6 separate regions of the Homo sapiens genome follow, and regions 2, 3, 4, 5 and 6 are each linked to region 1. Evidence: promoter capture Hi-C in 16 types of primary human blood cells and fetal thymus (Javierre and others, 2016). All regions are on one chromosome and are shown on one strand. The core of a region is centred on a gene start or on the middle of the fragment in contact, and the rest is flanking DNA. Distances in the headings are between cores, read along the strand shown. Region 1 holds the start of KRTAP3-1 (keratin associated protein 3-1). Region 2 holds the start of KRTAP29-1 (keratin associated like protein 29-1). Region 3 has its middle 7.9 kb from the start of KRTAP9-7. Region 4 holds the start of KRTAP9-6 (keratin associated protein 9-6). Region 5 has its middle 6.7 kb from the start of KRT33A. Region 6 has its middle 5.4 kb from the start of KRTAP17-1.

Evidence for each region. The method cuts DNA at HindIII sites, captures the fragments that hold promoters and counts their contacts. A CHiCAGO score of 5 or more calls a contact.
Region 2: a contact is called between the fragment with the promoter of KRTAP29-1 here and the fragment with the promoter of KRTAP3-1 in region 1, in 13 of 17 cell types (endothelial precursors, M2 macrophages, naive B cells and 10 more). The highest score is 17.0, in endothelial precursors.
Region 3: a fragment that was not itself captured here is called in contact with the fragment with the promoter of KRTAP3-1 in region 1 in 5 of 17 cell types (endothelial precursors, naive B cells, total B cells and 2 more); the score reaches 7.4 in endothelial precursors.
Region 4: a contact is called between the fragment with the promoter of KRTAP9-6 here and the fragment with the promoter of KRTAP3-1 in region 1, in 9 of 17 cell types (endothelial precursors, naive B cells, activated CD4 T cells and 6 more). The highest score is 11.8, in endothelial precursors.
Region 5: a contact is called between a fragment that was not itself captured here and the fragment with the promoter of KRTAP3-1 in region 1, in 7 of 17 cell types (endothelial precursors, naive B cells, megakaryocytes and 4 more). The highest score is 10.1, in endothelial precursors.
Region 6: a contact is called between a fragment that was not itself captured here and the fragment with the promoter of KRTAP3-1 in region 1, in 17 of 17 cell types (naive B cells, endothelial precursors, megakaryocytes and 14 more). The highest score is 16.1, in naive B cells.

Annotation. Positions count from the first base shown.
Region 1 is chr17:41,007,773-41,010,555 of GRCh38, forward strand. KRTAP3-1 (keratin associated protein 3-1) reads right to left here and starts at 1,356. Exons shown (of 1, transcript NM_031958.2): 1 at 749-1,356. The coding sequence starts at 1,302. The coding sequence ends at 1,006. The HindIII fragment of the contact is 1,175 bases long and covers 544-1,718 here.
Region 2 is chr17:41,301,570-41,304,269 of GRCh38, forward strand. It overlaps KRTAP29-1 (keratin associated like protein 29-1), which reads right to left and starts at 1,282. Exons shown (of 1, transcript NM_001257309.1): 1 at 257-1,282. The coding sequence starts at 1,282. The coding sequence ends at 257. The HindIII fragment of the contact is 6,603 bases long and covers 1-2,062 here.
Region 3 is chr17:41,282,162-41,285,045 of GRCh38, forward strand. No RefSeq gene overlaps it. Among named protein-coding and RNA genes, the nearest start is that of KRTAP9-7, 7.9 kb to the left of the region's middle. The HindIII fragment of the contact is 8,650 bases long and covers 1-2,884 here.
Region 4 is chr17:41,264,113-41,266,904 of GRCh38, forward strand. It overlaps KRTAP9-6 (keratin associated protein 9-6), which reads left to right and starts at 1,266. Exons shown (of 1, transcript NM_001277331.1): 1 at 1,266-1,748. The coding sequence starts at 1,266. The coding sequence ends at 1,748. The HindIII fragment of the contact is 5,841 bases long and covers 1-2,792 here.
Region 5 is chr17:41,342,714-41,345,558 of GRCh38, forward strand. No RefSeq gene overlaps it. Among named protein-coding and RNA genes, the nearest start is that of KRT33A, 6.7 kb to the right of the region's middle. The HindIII fragment of the contact is 4,681 bases long and covers 1-2,845 here.
Region 6 is chr17:41,319,610-41,322,567 of GRCh38, forward strand. No RefSeq gene overlaps it. Among named protein-coding and RNA genes, the nearest start is that of KRTAP17-1, 5.4 kb to the left of the region's middle. The HindIII fragment of the contact is 3,454 bases long and covers 1-2,958 here.

The DNA of each region.
Region 1 (2,783 bases), core at 106-2,605:
GTAGTAGTTTTGTTCTAATAGAAACTGTGTGTTTTTGCTCTCAGAATTGTGTGACTATTTCTGGTGTATAGAAAATACTACACTGTAGTCTGATATTTTAAGCATATTTCAATGTCATGATATTATATGTCACTTAGACTAGCAAACTTCTAATCATAGTCATGACTAATGTAAACCAATGTAAGCCCCATTTGAGGAATCAATGAATACTCGATAAATGCTAACATTAATTAAAAATGGATTGTTTTGGAAGACAGCATATATGAAGAAATGGATATATACACTTCTCAAAATTGCTTTGCATTTTGAGCTCAGAATTTCAGATGACTGTGAGGACTAGGATAATCAAATTATTTATACACACCAGCACAGTGATCAATTCATTTAGTCAATTAAGGAAGAAAGAAAAATCAATGTCAGAATCAATGGAAACTAAAATCAAGTATTTTTAAAACATTCTGTTAATCTCTAGACTCTAGCATAGTGCTTGCACAGTGGATGTCTTCCAATAATATCTATTAAATAAATATCTGTTAAATAAAAAGCTTCTATAAAATGAACTACCACATTTTTTACTTTTTAACTTATCACAAATAACCAGTATCTATTTTTTCGATAAATTCCACTATGAGAGCTCTTATTCTGTTGGGGTAAATCTTGGATAGTGTGATAACCTACTGTTCAGGTTTAGGTAGGCATTCCACTTTCCCTAATGGGAGACATGAAAATAAATAATCACAAGGTCATATTTGCTAAGCCAGAATAAAGTTTATTAACAAATGGTCAAAATGGTTATTTCTCAAAGAGTGATGAAATAGCCTAAAAGACAGAAGGGAGGTCTCCAATGGTACCCAAATGTGCAAATAATTAAGAAGATTCATCAAGACTTGGCCCCGGGGATTGGGATGGCCTTAGCCTTGATGTAGGCAGTAGTGAGTGCTGAAGCCCAGATGGTGCAGAGGACATTGGGCAGCCACCTCACGGAACCTGTGCAGACTCGGCTGGTTAACAGCGGGGCTCACAGGGACTCTCACAGCCAGGCTGAACATAGGTGGTCAGGTTGATCCCACTCAGTCCGGGAGTCGGGTGACAGTTGTTGAGCAGCCAGCAAGTTGGCACATAGGTATCAGGCTTGCAGCAGGGTGGGGGGCAGGTGTCACAGCAGATGGGCTGAAGGAGGCTGATCTCATGTGGGCAGGTGCTGGGTAGGCAGACTCCACAGCGGCAGCTTTTATCAAATGAGCAGAAGGTGGTGGCAGGGCCGGTGGGGACGCTGCAGGAGCGGAGAGCACAGCAATACATGGCAATGGGAGGTGGGTTTTTGTTGAGTTGAGAGAAGTCTGTTGGTGTCTCGATGCTCCTCTCTTCTGCTCTGGCTCTTATATACCCATCTCCCTGGGCGTCAGCCTATTACTGAGGGTTTTTCCCCCATGTTTCAGTTTATAGTTATTTCCATAAAAAATGCCTAATTACTTAAGTGTTTATTACCTAAGATACACTGCTCACCTCATAAAAGAGATTTAGGTTGTTTTGTTGTCAAATTAGGACTATTCACATTGCCAGTGTGTCACTACACAGAAATCTTCATTCCAGTCTTCAAAGGTACCGGGCCATTATCTTCTAATCATTATACCCTCACTAATAATGGCTCGGTATGCCAGGCATCTGCAAACGTTTCCCACTTCTTTTGTTTACTTTTCAGATGAAGAGGACAAGTAAGCTTTTTGTTTGCTGTTCTACCAGTGACTACAGGTTCTATGTGATCCTTTAGGCCCTCAGGCTGAAAAAGTGATATAACATTTTAGATTTATTATTTGTGGCTCCAATAAACTGAATGAAGATGAATGGATAGAATCTATAGAGAAATAGATTTTGGTTTTGTGTAAAGAGGCACTTTCAAACAGAGCTATAACAAATCGTTTGTTCTGCATTCCTTTCAAATATGCTCTGAACAATAACTTGGTAAGAACATGCAGGTGGGAATGAAGACCTTCATGGGTGACAAAGATGGGTGTCCTTTAAGCTCCATCCAACTGTGTTATAAATGGAGATTATTTATAACCAAAAGGCTGGTTGTATTGGGCCATTCAGAAGCTAAATGATGCAGTATTTACCAGACTGAGTTCCATGAACACTGGTTCCAAGGGACTTGAAAGTGTTTTCTGGTAAGTAAGTTTGGGAAATGCTGAATTCTTCATTGTTGGGCCTCTCGGAGCCTTTAATGTGCTAAAATGCTCTATGACTTTTCAATACAGAGATATAGCATATATTTTTCTCCAAACTTACTTGACCATGGACTGCTTTTTGTTTGTTTTCAGAGATTAGCTCTATAGGTCAGTGCTTTATGAAACATACTTGGGGAGATTTAGCAACATCTTACAGCAAGCTTGTTCAACCTGTGGCCCAGAAAGGCATTGAATGCAGCACAACACAAATTCATAAACTTTCTTAAAACATTATGAGATTTTTTTGTGATTTTTTTTCTTTTTTTGCTCATCAGCTGTCATTAGTGTTAGTGTATTTTATGTGTGGCCCAAGACAATTCTTCTTTCAATGTGGCCCAGGGAAGCCAAAACATTGAACACCCCTGTCTTACTTCCAGGCTCTGTGGTCCAGAATAGAGACATTTCCGAGTTTCATCTAAACCACTAAAACTCTAAAAATAAAGTTTTAAAAGTAGATAAAGGTAGAAAATTTAGTATGATGATTTAGAATTACTTTAGAATATGAAAAATACTAAACTGGTAAAACCTTTAGAAATGGCTTACTTAGAAAGGCTTAAA
Region 2 (2,700 bases), core at 32-2,531, 290 kb after region 1:
AATGAATTGACATCATCAGGAAATGCAAGCAGCAGTGTGGTAGTCCATGGTTGCTGAAAGGTTATTCTCGGTTAAGAAGGATCTCTTCGTGCCTGGACAAGTTCCCTGGTCAGCACCTGGAGAGAATGTGAAGGTGGAATCAGGGTAAAGTTAGAAAGCAGGCAGCATTTGTACTCGGTGGGAGGCAGGCACCCAGGGATGGCTATGCATTTATAGACAGCCGCAGACCCTCAGAGGAGGTGTGAAGAGGGCTCCATTAACAAAGTGTTGCCTTGCAGAAGCTGGACTCACAGCTGGGTTGGCATGAAGTCGGCAAGCAATTGGAGCCACTACTGGGTGATGTGCCTAAACCAGTCACACAGCAAGCTGATTTGCAGCCACTCTGGTTATAGGAAGGGGGTCCATCACAAGTTGGTTGGCCAGAAATCACAGTGTCACAAGAAGCTGGTTTGCAACAGTTCTTTGTGGAACAAGGGGCCTGGCAGTTAGCCACTGGCTGGTAGATGAAGCATGTGGAAGGAACCAGTTGGCAGTGAGGTGGCTGGCAATGGGAAGGCACACAGCAAGTAGTATTGCAAGAACTGAACACACAAGTCGATGGCTGGCAGGGAACAGGCATGTAGAGGGCTGATTGGCAAGGCTTGAAAATATAGCAGATGGGTTGATAATAAGTTGATTTACAGGGCTGGCCTTCACCACTGACGGGTTGACATGAACTTCCTTGGCACCAAGTTGGTTGGCATGGACTAGCTGTACAGATGGTTGGTAGGCAAGAAGTTTCCGGACAGGAGGTCACTTCAGAGCAGGATGGCTGGCAGGATCCAGCATCACAGCAGACTGATTGGCCACAAGCTGCCTGACATGATCCAGACATGCAGACAGATTCCTGGCAGGAGCTTTGCTGGCAGGGACTGGCATCGCAGCACTTTTCCTGACAACAAGTAGATTCCGAGCAGGATGGCTGACATGAGCTAACCAGACAAGGAGACTGACCAGTGCCAGACTGATAGCAGGCTGCGTGGGAGCACATAGGTTGGCAAACAAAACCCACACAAGACGTTGCTGGAAGGCGGGTAGGTTGACACGAAGCAGGATCACAGCCACTTGGGGCACCAATGGATGGCTGACAGCTTTCTTGGCATGTGACCAGTTGCCACATTCTGCTGTGGCAGGAACTAGGCAAACAGAGAGCATGTCGAAATCCACCTTTAACTGGGTATGTGGTGATGGTGGGCACAGCTGGAATGGCTGTGGTGTTTCCAGGACAACAGCCGTCTGCCATGGTGCTGGTGCTGACCTTGCTGGGAAGTTGCAAGCTCAGTATACCTGCATTGGAAAGACATCCGATACAGAGGGGCTTTTATAGTCCTTCACTAGGGGTGTTGGCACGCCATGCAGCATCTTTCCTTGTTATTGTTTTTACTCATTTGCATGCAAACATCTGATTAGCAGGCTTCAGGAGCCTGGGAGATGTTTCAACTTTGAAAAGGTGTCTGTTGAGTCGGGAGTTTTCTGCGCTGCATTTGGATTCGTTGACACTGCTCCTGCTCTTGGATGAGCTGTCTCTTTTACAGGTTGCTCTCCAGCCTCACTGAAGCAGGCCTTTCCTGGCACTAACCTTTCATCAGGAGGCCTCTGCCAAGCCAGAGTGGCCCTGCTGTTCCTCCAGGAATGCAGCTTTGCACCATTCAATCAGAAATGAAGCCTTGACCCAGTTTGGGGAGAGGATGTCAAGACGGGAAATGGAAAATTAGTCCAAGGAACCCAGGGACACTTAAGTGCCTCTACCTCTTTTTAAAACCTTCCCATTTATCATTCCTGAAACTTGTTTACTAGTACTATTACTAATAATAACAATAGAAATGGCTTTCATTTATTGCATAGTTACTAGATCAAGTCCTTGGCTGCATTTTTCACTGGATCCTCACAATGACTTCAGTAAGTATAATTGTCATCACTATGTTAGAAGTGGCAAAACTAAAAAAAAGTAATAAATAAAGAAGAAACCAGGTTTAAAACAAAGTTAAGATTAAAATATAAAACTTCATTGGCCCTTTTAGGAAGCTTAAAATCTCCCCCAAATTGGTTCCTCTCAAGATTTTTTTAGAACAGAAAAGAAGAAAACAGAAGTGGCAAAACTCATAGAGTTTAAATCATGTTCCCAAAATTATGCAAATGAAAAGGGGTAGAAACAAAATTCAAACCTAGCTTTGTCTGACCACCAAACCCCTGATCTTAACCACCTATTAGACCCCCTGACTTTGGGGAGGCAGGGAGAAGGCGACACTGATATAGTGGCTGCAGGCTGACACCCCTATGGCAACAGACTGGCTCGTGAGCAGGTTGCCCAGGCCCCATCCTGGGGATCCTCCGCCCACTCCAGTGACTGTAATCAGCAGCTAGACCACACTGGTGTGAGTACTTACCTCTACTTATCAATACACTCAAACACAGTCTTTTAATTTTGGAAATTTTTTAAACTACCAAATATTTCATCAGGAAGTATCAAACCCACCCTAGGGCATCAATAGCATATGAATTCTATACAAATAAAAACACGCCAGCAGTGATAATAAAAAAAATCACTGTAAAGTGGTGTTAATGTTAAACCAATCCCTTCCAAGAGGAATTCGTGAGGGACTTTCTTGGCCCTTCTGCTTTTCCTCCGGGCTTGTCCTGGCTCCGCATCACCAACCAGGT
Region 3 (2,884 bases), core at 245-2,744, 270 kb after region 1:
TACCTAAAAATGCAGAATACTTGAACAAAAAAGACTAAGAAACACCCTGCAATGCGCACAAGACACAGTTTCTGTGCTCCAAATGCTGGATCAACCTAGCTTCTCAATCAGAGGATTATAAGGGTAGTGCATATTTACAGAATCCTCAGAATTGAAGTAACTGAGCAATGGGTATATAATGCTTTGATCCAACCAGTGCCTCAATGTTGTGAGGCAAAGTTGAAGCAGAGGAGATTCAACATCAGAGTATTAGAAAAAGAAAACATAAGGATTTGAGAAAGAAAATAAAGGAAACTGGTCACTCTTAAAAAGTATACTGGATATAATGACAATAGACGTTATTGTAGTCCCCCAAAGTGGGAGCTAGACTTTCCGAAGAGCTGAACACCAAAGAGGATACCAAGATATTTCTTGAAAAAAAAGAACAGATACTGGCTCCAGGGGAAAAATAATATTCTGTGGCCTGAGCTATCACATAGTAGTTAGGTCTTAGGAAATCTAAGAAGGTGGAGGGATTTTCCAAAGAGGCTTCCATGTTGTCTGACTTGCTAAGTGCTTGCTCTCCTGATGCATTCAAGGATGAGCTGAGGCACTACCATTTACTGAGTAACTACAGGTATTAGTCTAGGTTTTTCTAATTCATAATCCACCAATGTTTTATTTTCCTCATTTCACAGATGAAGAAACAGAGGCTAAGGGAGATGAAGGAACTTGTTCAAAGTTGTACAGTTAACAGTTGACCTGGCTTCAAACACTAAGCTGTCTACACTACACTCACTGTGTGTGCTATGCTCCCTGCCCCTACCAGTCTAGAGACATAACCGGGTCTATGGAGTCTTGAATATGACAGCAAATTACTTGGTACCCTCACACAGTCTCATTTCCTTATTCTACCAATAGTTGGGACTTCGGGAGAGTGAATAAGAATAAAGACTTACATCTGGATATTAAAACAATCCTTTATTTAAATAAGATTTATTGAGCACTTACTGTGTGTTAAGTACTGTGCCAGGTGCTGTGATTACAGAAGTGAACGAGACATTCAACATCCTCACCTTTATTGTGCTTCGGGAAGAATACAAACAAGAGACAAAATTTATACAGTAGAAGTGAGGAAGGTGAGCCTATATTATTAATGATATAGGAAGGGTGGTTCATGACGACTGTATCTAACAGAATTGTATCTTAGCAACGAATCAGAGAGGGAAGGAAATAAAAAACTTCCATTTTGAACCCATGAATCAATTTACCAAGTAGAACAACAGGGGTGATACTGAAAGAACTCAGGTACAAAAATTCCCCAAAAATGTAAATGCAGAAACAATAAAACATGGTTGGAATATATTAAGTACTTCCCCCAAAGCCTGCAGCTTGTAGGTAGCAGAACAGGCATGATGCAAATACTCATCTATGTGATTTCGATCCTCATGGCCCAGACTTTCCTGCCTTCTTCCACAGTGGAAAACCTGTGCATGAACAAAGAAGGGAAGATGAACCCATGAGCTCTCTTTGTGTGGACATACTGCAGTCTTCCTGGCCAAACACAGGAAATTGATGATACATTGCAAAGGCAGATCACAAAACCAGCACACATGGGAGGAGAAGGGATGAAGGAACATCCAACAATCTAGCTATTTTGTGGGGACCTCAGAATCACTAAAATTGAGCAGAAGGTTCTTAGGCAACCAGGTAAACCACCTTGATCTAGATTTTAACAATGAGAAGGACTTGGTAAGCAAAGGTTAGTGATGATAAACTTGCTGCAAAAGGACCATGTAAAAATTTGTGATAGCAAGGCAAGGAAATGCTTGTTTGGCTGGAACTGCATTCTACAGAGCAGGAAGATAATTGGCTATTTACAGGAACATGAATGTGATTTTCCAGCAAAGGGCACTGGAATAGAGGATGGAGCTAAGGGTAGGGAAGCGCTCAGAAAAGCCATTCTGATTGCTTAGTCACAGATGCTTCTAATGAGGAAAAAGTTCAGGGGGTCTAGAGTGAGTACAGAAATTCTCTAAAAGCTCTTTAAAAGATCTTCCTAGGAATGGAACAGACCACCCCGGGTGTATGAATTTCCATTTACTAGACACTTAAGCATTGGATCTGGCAACACATGGCAGGAAGTTTATTAGGATTCCTTCCATGCCTGAGATTCTTTGAGATCCTTAAACACTCTGTCTTGCCCCATCATTATTTGATTAATTAATTGCTAACAGGTTGTTATTCTCTGAACTCCGTAAGCATTCACATACATAATGCTTTAAAGAAAGCATACACACTGTCATGATAATTGGCATTCCCTTGGAGATAAAAAAAAAAAAAAAATAAGGACTATCTCCCCAATGGCATGCAAGGTAGAATTCACAACCCTTGATAAATGTACCTGGTTCTGGCCTTTAGCCTTGCAGACTCAGAGACCTGATTTTGCTTACATTCTAAGGGTTAAGCCACGTCTTAGAGCAGACACCTGTTAGCCAAGCCCAAAAAGCAAGGATGCCTATTTATTAAATTACAGGAGAATTAAGTAACAGGAACTTCTAAAACACCACATGAGTAAGGAATCAGACAGGAAGTTATATAAACTAAATGTTGAATGGCATTTGACATGTTCGTTTCACAATAGTTCTCACCAATGGAAATTGAAAATTCATAGTCCCTCTCCTGTGGGCAGTTGCCTGGAGGCACACTGCCAACATTCACCCCAGCACTTGTCTTAACCCTGATTTTCCATGGTTCAACAATACTCTAATTTAACTTTCACATTTTTACATCTTCAATTAGACTTGAATCAATTCCTCAGACTTTGAATGCATACATCTTTTTAAGGTGACGCTACATAATTTGGTTTTGATCGTTTTGAACATAGGTTCCAAGTCTTGGATGA
Region 4 (2,792 bases), core at 16-2,515, 260 kb after region 1:
AATTGCTGCTTTTGATTATGCCAAAAACACAGTGAAGCAAATTCTATAATTTTTATTTACATAAAAGTCAAAGAAAAAAACAAAACTGACCTACAGGATTAAAACTTGATAGAGTGACTAGCTACCTTTGGAGATAAGTAAAAAGATATAATTTGGAGGGAATGGAATTAATTTCTATTTTGTAAACTGGTAATGGGGACTTAGATGTATTTATAATGTAATATTATATCAAGTTGGAATTCATAATTTGCACTCTTCTGAAATGAATGGTATAATTTAAAAAGTTTTAAACAATGGTAAACCTCAAAGAGGAATCAGATATCATCTCAACTCACCTAATTCCCTCACTGAAAACAGAGAGACAGAGAGAGAGAGAGAGAGAGAGACAGAGACAGAGACAGAGACAGAGACAGAGACAGAGAAATGGCAATGATTGTGCCAGTAACCTGGATTAGGGCTAGAGCCACAGCTCATATTGCTTTGCCTGGACCTCAAGCAGTAATGTCACAGTAATTCCCAGTCCCACATTCTCATGCTGGTAAGCCCCTCAGTCCCAGACAAATCAGGGTGAATGGTCACCGCAGCACGTAGATTGCTTGATGCTTTGTGAATTCCAGTGAACCCCTCCTCTTTCTACGTGTTTGCTTTGGCTCTGCTCTGCCACATAGCACACATTGTGCTGAACACCCTCTTCCCAAGAGGCTTTTATAGAACTGGAAGAGACAGGTAAAGTAGGTTGTACATAGAGAGATGCCTATCAGTCTTGAATCAGACTTTGGTGGGTGAACAGTCTTGGTCCCAAGCATGGATTCAATTCACCACTGTGAATATATCAACATCATGCTTCTCCCCACAGACACTTCCCAGTCTACATACAGCCAAAGGATGAGACTGGGCAGAGAGAACTTCCTGAGCCTCCCCAGTCACCAGGAACTATCACATGACGAGATGCTGGTCAGAGCAGGAACGAAGCTGATGATGAGACTGCCTTCCTTTTATCTGAAACAAAGTTTCTACGAGTAATTTACAATTAAGAAACAGATTAAACCCTTACTTTCCAAAGATTCATAACATTTAGGAAATGACTTCCTCTTTGACAATGCCAAACTGACTATGGAAAACAACTGTAAACAGCAAGAAAGAAAAATCCTGCTGATTGGTGGAAACTTTGGAGGCCACATGTATAAAAGGTCCAGATTGCAAGGGGTCATCAAATCCTGGGAAACTCACCTCTGAACAGAAGCCCACCCTCCACCCCTGACAACATGACCCACTGTTGCTCCCCTGGCTGTCAGCCTACCTGCTGCAGGACCACTTGCTGCAGGACTACCTGCTGGCAGCCCACCATTGTGACCACCTGCAGCAGCACACCCTGCTGCCAGCCCTCCTGCTGTGTGTCCAGCTGCTGCCAGCCTTACTGCCACCCAACTTGCTGTCAAAACACCTGCTGCAGGACCACCTGCTGCCAGCCCACCTGTGTGACCAGCTGCTGCCAGCCTTCCTGCTGCAGCACACCCTGCTACCAGCCCATCTGCTGTGGGTCCAGCTGCTGTGGCCAAACCAGCTGTGGGTCCAGCTGTGGCCAGAGCAGCTCCTGTGCACCTGTGTACTGCAGAAGAACCTGCTACCACCCCACGACTGTCTGCCTGCCTGGTTGCCTCAACCAGAGCTGTGGATCCAGCTGCTGCCAGCCCTGCTACTGCCCAGCCTGCTGTGTGTCCAGCTGCTGCCAGCATTCTTGTTGCTGAGCAGCACCACAGAGGACCATCATCCTCACACAACAACCTTCTGCTCAACTGACCTTTTTTTTCTTTTGAGACGGAGCCTCACTGTCACCCAGGCTGGAGTGCAGTAGCACGCTCTCGGCTCGCTGCAACCTCCATCTTCTGGGTTCAAGTGATTCTCCTGCCTCAGCCTCCTGAGTAGCTGGGATTACATGCCTGTGCCACCACGCCTGGCTAATTTTTTGTATTTTTAGTATTTTTAGTAGTTTTCACCATGTTGATCAGACTTGTCTGGAACTCCTGCCCTCAGGTGATCCACCTGCCTCAGCCTCCCAAAGTGCTGGGATTACAGGTGTGAGCTACCACACCCAGACCCAACTCACTTATCTTTCAGAAGACAGATTTACTTTCAAACTTTACTGATACACAGTATGCTTTCACCAATTTTTTTTATTTCTTTGCCTGTTTAAAATCTTGGGAATCAGCTTGAGGGAGGGCAGAATACTTCATCCTGATTCTTTTTTCCTTACACTTTGTGGATCATGTGCCAGCTTCATGTGTTCTCAATGTGGAGACATGGTCTCCATTCGACTCTAAAGTCAAGAGCTTCATTCTCTCCTTCTAAGAAACTTAGGTTTCTGCAACTGATCAATAATCTTTGCAATCATATTTTTGTTTTCAATTTTGTCCTCATGTTTCTTTTACCCTTCTTTCTTCTTTTCATTGTAACTTTGGGCTATGTCCCTAGTAGCAGGGATTCTTACCTATATATTTCTGAATAAATTCTGAACCATCCTTCATCTCATATGGTGTTTTATTTTACAGAATTGCTGATATGAGATTTACACACATATTGCATGCTATATGTATTATCCAATTTGATTCTGAAAACAGAGTTATTATTATGTATTATTACCTCAATTTTTCAGCTGAGAACAATTTAGTGTGTGATTTTATGTAGCTAATAAAGGACAGACTCTAGTCCAAGGTGAGAGCTTCTCTTTCTGCCCAAGAACACTTACATTTAACTCTCGGTAAAGTAGAAATGATATTGAGACTCAGCAATAG
Region 5 (2,845 bases), core at 48-2,547, 330 kb after region 1:
TCCTGTGCTTGTCCCTACAAGTTTAAAAAAAAAAAGTGAGAGTGAGGGAAAGCTACCTCTGCACACCTGCAGCAGGCTCAGCGAGGAGCCTGGTGGGGCCGGGGCCCACCTGCCTGGCACATAACTTCATCAAGTTGTCAGTGTGCATTTTGCAATAACAAGGGACAGATCATGTCATCCTCATATCCTTTTATAGTTGGAGCCATTCTTGGGACTTTTGGTGCCTGCTGCCAGACTCTCCTGTTTTTGATGAGAAATGTGAGCAGTTGTTGTTAGATGTCAGTGATTCTTCTTTGAAACATAAAAGAAGACATACCTGACTTGTAATTGTCATCCACTACCCTGAAACTTTAAATGTTAGTGTTCAGTAAACCTATTTTCCATTCAGCTGCCAATGCACTCCTTTTAATAAAAGTGTCAATCAAATTCATCCTTTTAACTCTCCCAAGGCTTTCCTCTTCCCTTGAAATGAAATCGGATCCTCCACAGAACTGGCGAGCCCCCATGTACCCTGGCCACTGCCCACACATACAGGCTGATTGTTCCTCCCCTACTCATCACTCCCGATGCCCTGGCCTTGCTCCCTTCTTCAAAGGCAACTGCCTTACTCCCTCCCTTCCTTGACTTTCTGTCCCTCTCTCTGGAAAGCTCTTTCCCTCTGCTCTGTTTCTTCTCTGTTTTCAGGTCTCAATGCAAATGTCACCTCTCAGGCAAGCTCTCCAAACTGAGACAATAGGAGCTCGGTTCACATCTGTCAAAAATAGGAGCAAACAGGCTGTTAGGAGGCTGAGTAGAATGTTTTACTGGGACTAGACAATATCAAACTTAGATCCCAAGAGCCCAGGAATTCGTATTCAAGGTCAAAGTGTCAACAACAAGAATACTGAGTCTTACATAGGTACCATGCTGCACCATTTATAAAGCACTTCCATACACAGGGGATCTTCACAACCCCACAATGCTGCCAGGCCAGGTCTCTCAAAAGGAGGACTCTGATGGTCAGGGGAGTCAACAATATATCCAAAACCAGGACCAAAAAATGTTGCCTCCAAAACAAGCCATAATTCTTCTTCTCATCACAGCATCCCACACCATCTCCTAGTGGGTAAGACTCATAGCCCAGCGCCATCATGGTTTATTTCACAGGGAAGGGTGGGGCAGGGATTAGGAGACATTTCCCAGGGTCTTGTTTCCTTGCTTCCTTGCTATGGGCCTCTCCCCTCAGAGCACTGTTTTCTGAGAAGGCCTGGCTCGAGGAGCTGATGACCTCAGCGACTGCAGACCTGGGAACCTGCAGAAAGGAGAAATTAAGTTTGCACCTGGGAAAGCCCAGGGTTGAATAACAGAACCTCGCCTTTAAGAATTCTTGCTTTTTTTTTCCTGCCTCTGCATTGTTGCTGAAATATACAAGAGAGAAAGAAAGGATTCTGAACCCATTATTTATCTCCTCCTTCCAAGCAAGCAGCAGACATTCATGATTAATGATGAGGTGACTTTCTACATTGATTTAATTGAAATCTGTATCCTATCCAGGTTATTTTTAAAGTTTATAAAGACCTTTTCTACTGATTCTTCTCTTCCAAACTCAAATAAAGAAATGTTTTATATACATGATCTTCCACTAAAAAGGAGCCCAGACTCTCAGATCCTCAGGAACATCTGTTCTCCATTCTATAGGACTGTGCTGCTGAAGACAAATGGAGTAGCGAGTGACCAATCTTTGAGACTCAGCATTCTCTCTATGTTAGCCCTAACGCAAAAGAGAGGACTGGTCCGCACCTAAGGGAAGAAGGTGGCCACGAGCAACTGTTGAGGGCTGGTCTCCTTAGCTGTCCTCTGGTATCCACAGCCCTGAATGGAAGGTTTTGGGTATTTTTCCCTGGACATCTCTACCACACCTAAATATATGGTCTGCAAGTTTTGGAGAGAATTTCCAACCCCCACTCTACCTCCTGCCCCTCCCTACCTGTTCTCATAGGTTGATGATATTCTAATCTCTATTAAGAGTTCCCATTCTCAATATCTCTTCATTTCAATCATTGATTTAGAAAAGTAGGAGTAGAGAAGTGAAAAATGAGACTCAATCTCATTTGTGGGCTGGGCCTTGGGTTTCCTTACTTGATTGCTGTTTTTGTTTTTTTAAACATTGCCAAATCTGGATGCCACTGAAGGCAGTAATGTGACATAATGATGGTCCCAACTGCATATAAATAAAAACAGGTGGGGCCAAAGCTCAAGGCTCACTAGGACAAAAGAGACTTTTCCGCCAAATAACCCACTCACAGTTCTCCATCATCTGACGCAGACCCCAGGCAACTGAGCAGAGAACTCCAGCATAGAGTTCCAGGCCCACATCATAGAACTACAGAAAGTCACAAGGAGTCCTTGAGTGCCGAGGCAGGAACAAAGAGAGGAAGGTGAACCAAAGGCACCTCCCCACCATCCAGCCTAGCAGATCCCACACTCCTCCTGGCCACTATATCCCTCTACCCTTTGCTGCTCCTTCCTACTTTCTACCTAAACATTTCAGCACAGCATGGTTGTGTGTGTGCATGTGTGTGTGGTGTACATATGCTTATATGGTATGTGGTTATGTATATGTGTATATGAGATTATATACCATATGTTAAGGTGATAGATTTATATTACCTCAGTACAGGTTTTTTTTTTACTCAAAAGGTTTTCGGATCCCTCCACTTAATGTTTCAGAATAAATAGTTCCTGTGTCTCTAAAGACACCTTCATATGAATTTGCCATTCTGTTTCCCACCACCTTCTTCCCAAACACTAAATCCGGGTTAATAGTCTTTCATGGAGGCTTTTCCATTGAAGGAAATCATAGGCC
Region 6 (2,958 bases), core at 46-2,545, 310 kb after region 1:
GTTGCAACATGGCTCCAGAATCAACACTATCAAACTACCAACATCATTTTTAACAGAATTTGAAAAAACTATTCTAAATTTCATATGGAACCAGAAAAGATCCCAAAGAGCCAATGCAATCCTAAGCAGAAAGAACAAAGTGGAAGGTATCACGTTACCCAATTTCAAACTATAGTGTAAAGCTACAGTAACCAAAACAGCATGGTACTGGTACAAAAACAGACATATACAATGGAACAGAATAGAGAATCCGGAAATAAAGCTGCTCACCTACAGCCACCTGATCTTTGACAAAGTTAACAAAAATAAGCATTGGGGAAAGGACTCCCGATTCAATAAATGGTGCTGGGATAACTGGCTAGCCATATGCAGAAGAATTAAACAACCTCTGTATTTCACCATATAGAAAAATTAACTCAAGATGGATTAAAGATTTAAATGTAAGGCCTCAAACTATAAGAATCCTAGAAGAAAAACTAGGAAACATCATTCTGAACACTAGTCTTGGGAAAAAATGCATTACTAAGTTCTCAAAAACAAATGCAACAAAAACAAAAATTGACAAGTGGGATCTATTTAAATGAAAGAGCTTCAGCACAGTAAAAGAAACTATCAACAGAGTAAACAGATAACCTATAGAATGGAAGAAAATATCCACAAACTATGCATCCAAAAAAGATCTAATATCCAGAATCTATGAAAAACTTAAACAATTCAACAAGGAAAAAACAAATGACCCTGTTAAAAAGTGGGCAAAAGACATGAACAGACACTTCTCAAAAGAAGACATGCGAGTGGTCAACAAACATGTGAAAAAATGCTCCACATCATTAATCATCAGAGAAATGCAAATCAAAACCACAGTAAGATACCATCTCACACCAGTCAGAATGGCAATTATTAAAAAGTCAAAAAACAACAGATGTTGGTGAGGGTGTAGAGAAAAGGGACCGCTTATACACTGTTGGTGGGAATGTAAATTAGTTCAGCCACTGTGGAACGCAGTTTAGAGATTTCTCAAAGAACTTCAAATAGAACTACCATTCAACCCAGCAATCCCATTACTGGGTGTATTAGTCTGTTCTTGCACTACTATGAAGAAATGCCTGAGACTGGGTAATTTAGAAAGAAAAGAGGATTAATTGGCTCACAGTTTCATAAGCTATACAGGAAGCATGATGCAGGCATCTTCTCAGGTTCTGGGGAGGCCTCAGAAAACTTACAATCATGGCAGCAGGCAAAGGGTAGCTGGCACTTCACATGGCCAGGGCAGGAGGAAGAGAGAGAGTGGGGAGATGCTACACACTTTTAAATGACCAGATCTCACAAGAACTCACTCACTATCACAACCAAGGGGGCTAGTGCTAAACCATTCATCAGAAATCACCCCTGTGATCCAATCACCTCCCACCAGGACCCACCTGCAACGCTGGGAATTAACAACTGAACATGAGATTTGGGCAGGAACACAGATCCAAATTATATCACTGGGTATACATCCAAAAGAAAATAAATCGTTCTACCAAAAAAACACACATCCACTTATATGTTCATTGCAGCACTATTCACAATAGCAAAGACATAGAATCAGCCTAAATGCCCATCAGCAGTGGACTATGTAAGGAAAATGTGGCACACATACACCATGGAATACTACCTGGCCATAAAAAAAAAAATCATGTCATTTGCAGCAACATGGATGCAGCTGGAGGCCATTATCCTAAGTGAATTAATACAAGAACAGAAAGCTAAATACCATGTGTTCTCACTTACAAGTGGGAGCTAAACAGTGAATTCACATGGACGTAAATATGGCAACAATAGACACTGGAGACTATGAGAGGGGAAAGGGAAGGAGAGGAGCAAGGGTAGAAAAACTAACTATTGGTTACTATGCTCACTATCTGGATGATGAGATCAATTGTACCACAAACCTCAGCATATATACCCAGGTAGCAAACCTACACGTATACCCCCTGAATCCAAAAGAAAAGTTGAAATTATTTTTTTAATTACTCTCCAGAAAAATTGTCCTCATTTGTGTTCACTTCACAGTGCCTTCGCCAATATTAGTTGTTATTTTTAAAATCTCTTTGTCAATTGGGTAGGCCAATTATGAAGTCTCATTATAGTATTTATTTGTACTTAGTAATTATCATTGCATATTTTTATAGGCCACTGTTATTTCCTTTTTAGAAATTATCTGCTCATTCTAATTAGCTACCCATCTTTCCCACCTTACTTATATGAACTTATTTTATTATGCCAGGTATATTAACTTTTCGTTGTGTCACTCACACATGTTGCAAAATTTGTCCCAGGGTGTATCACTTTCTTTTAGTTGTGTCTATATTTTTACGCACAGAAATTTCTTTCTATGTAGGGAAATCTTTTTTTCCTAGTGTTTTGTTTCAAAAGTTCTCCTCCATCCCCAAATCAGACAACTATTTGCTTTATTTTCATCTATTTTATGGTTGTATTTTTTATACTTAATGCTGCTATCCATCAGGAATTTACTTTGGTGTGTGGCAGATACTGCTTTACAAAAAAAAAAAAAAATCCTAGTTTTCCTAATTGGGGAACTTGACTGCCTATTAAATGAAGTTTGCTGACAAGATCCTGCCTCTACAAAAAATTAAAAAATAAAAAATTTGCTGGGTGTGGTGGTGCATGCCTGTAGTCCCAGCTACTCAGAAGGCTGAGGCAGGAGGATGGCTTGAGCCTAAGAGCTCAAGGCTGCAGTGACTGAGCTCAAGGAGCCATGATCAAGCCACTACACTCCAGCCTGGGCAATGGAGCGAGACCCTGTCTCTAATAAATAAAAAAAATAGTTTCTGTACAAGAAAGAACAGAATGTAGAGATCAAAAACGCAATCATGTCGTCTGTTCTGGCAGCCTCTAGTGTTCATCTCATGATATTACACAAGCAGCTTCTAGTGTTTCCTTTAGAAGCACTCA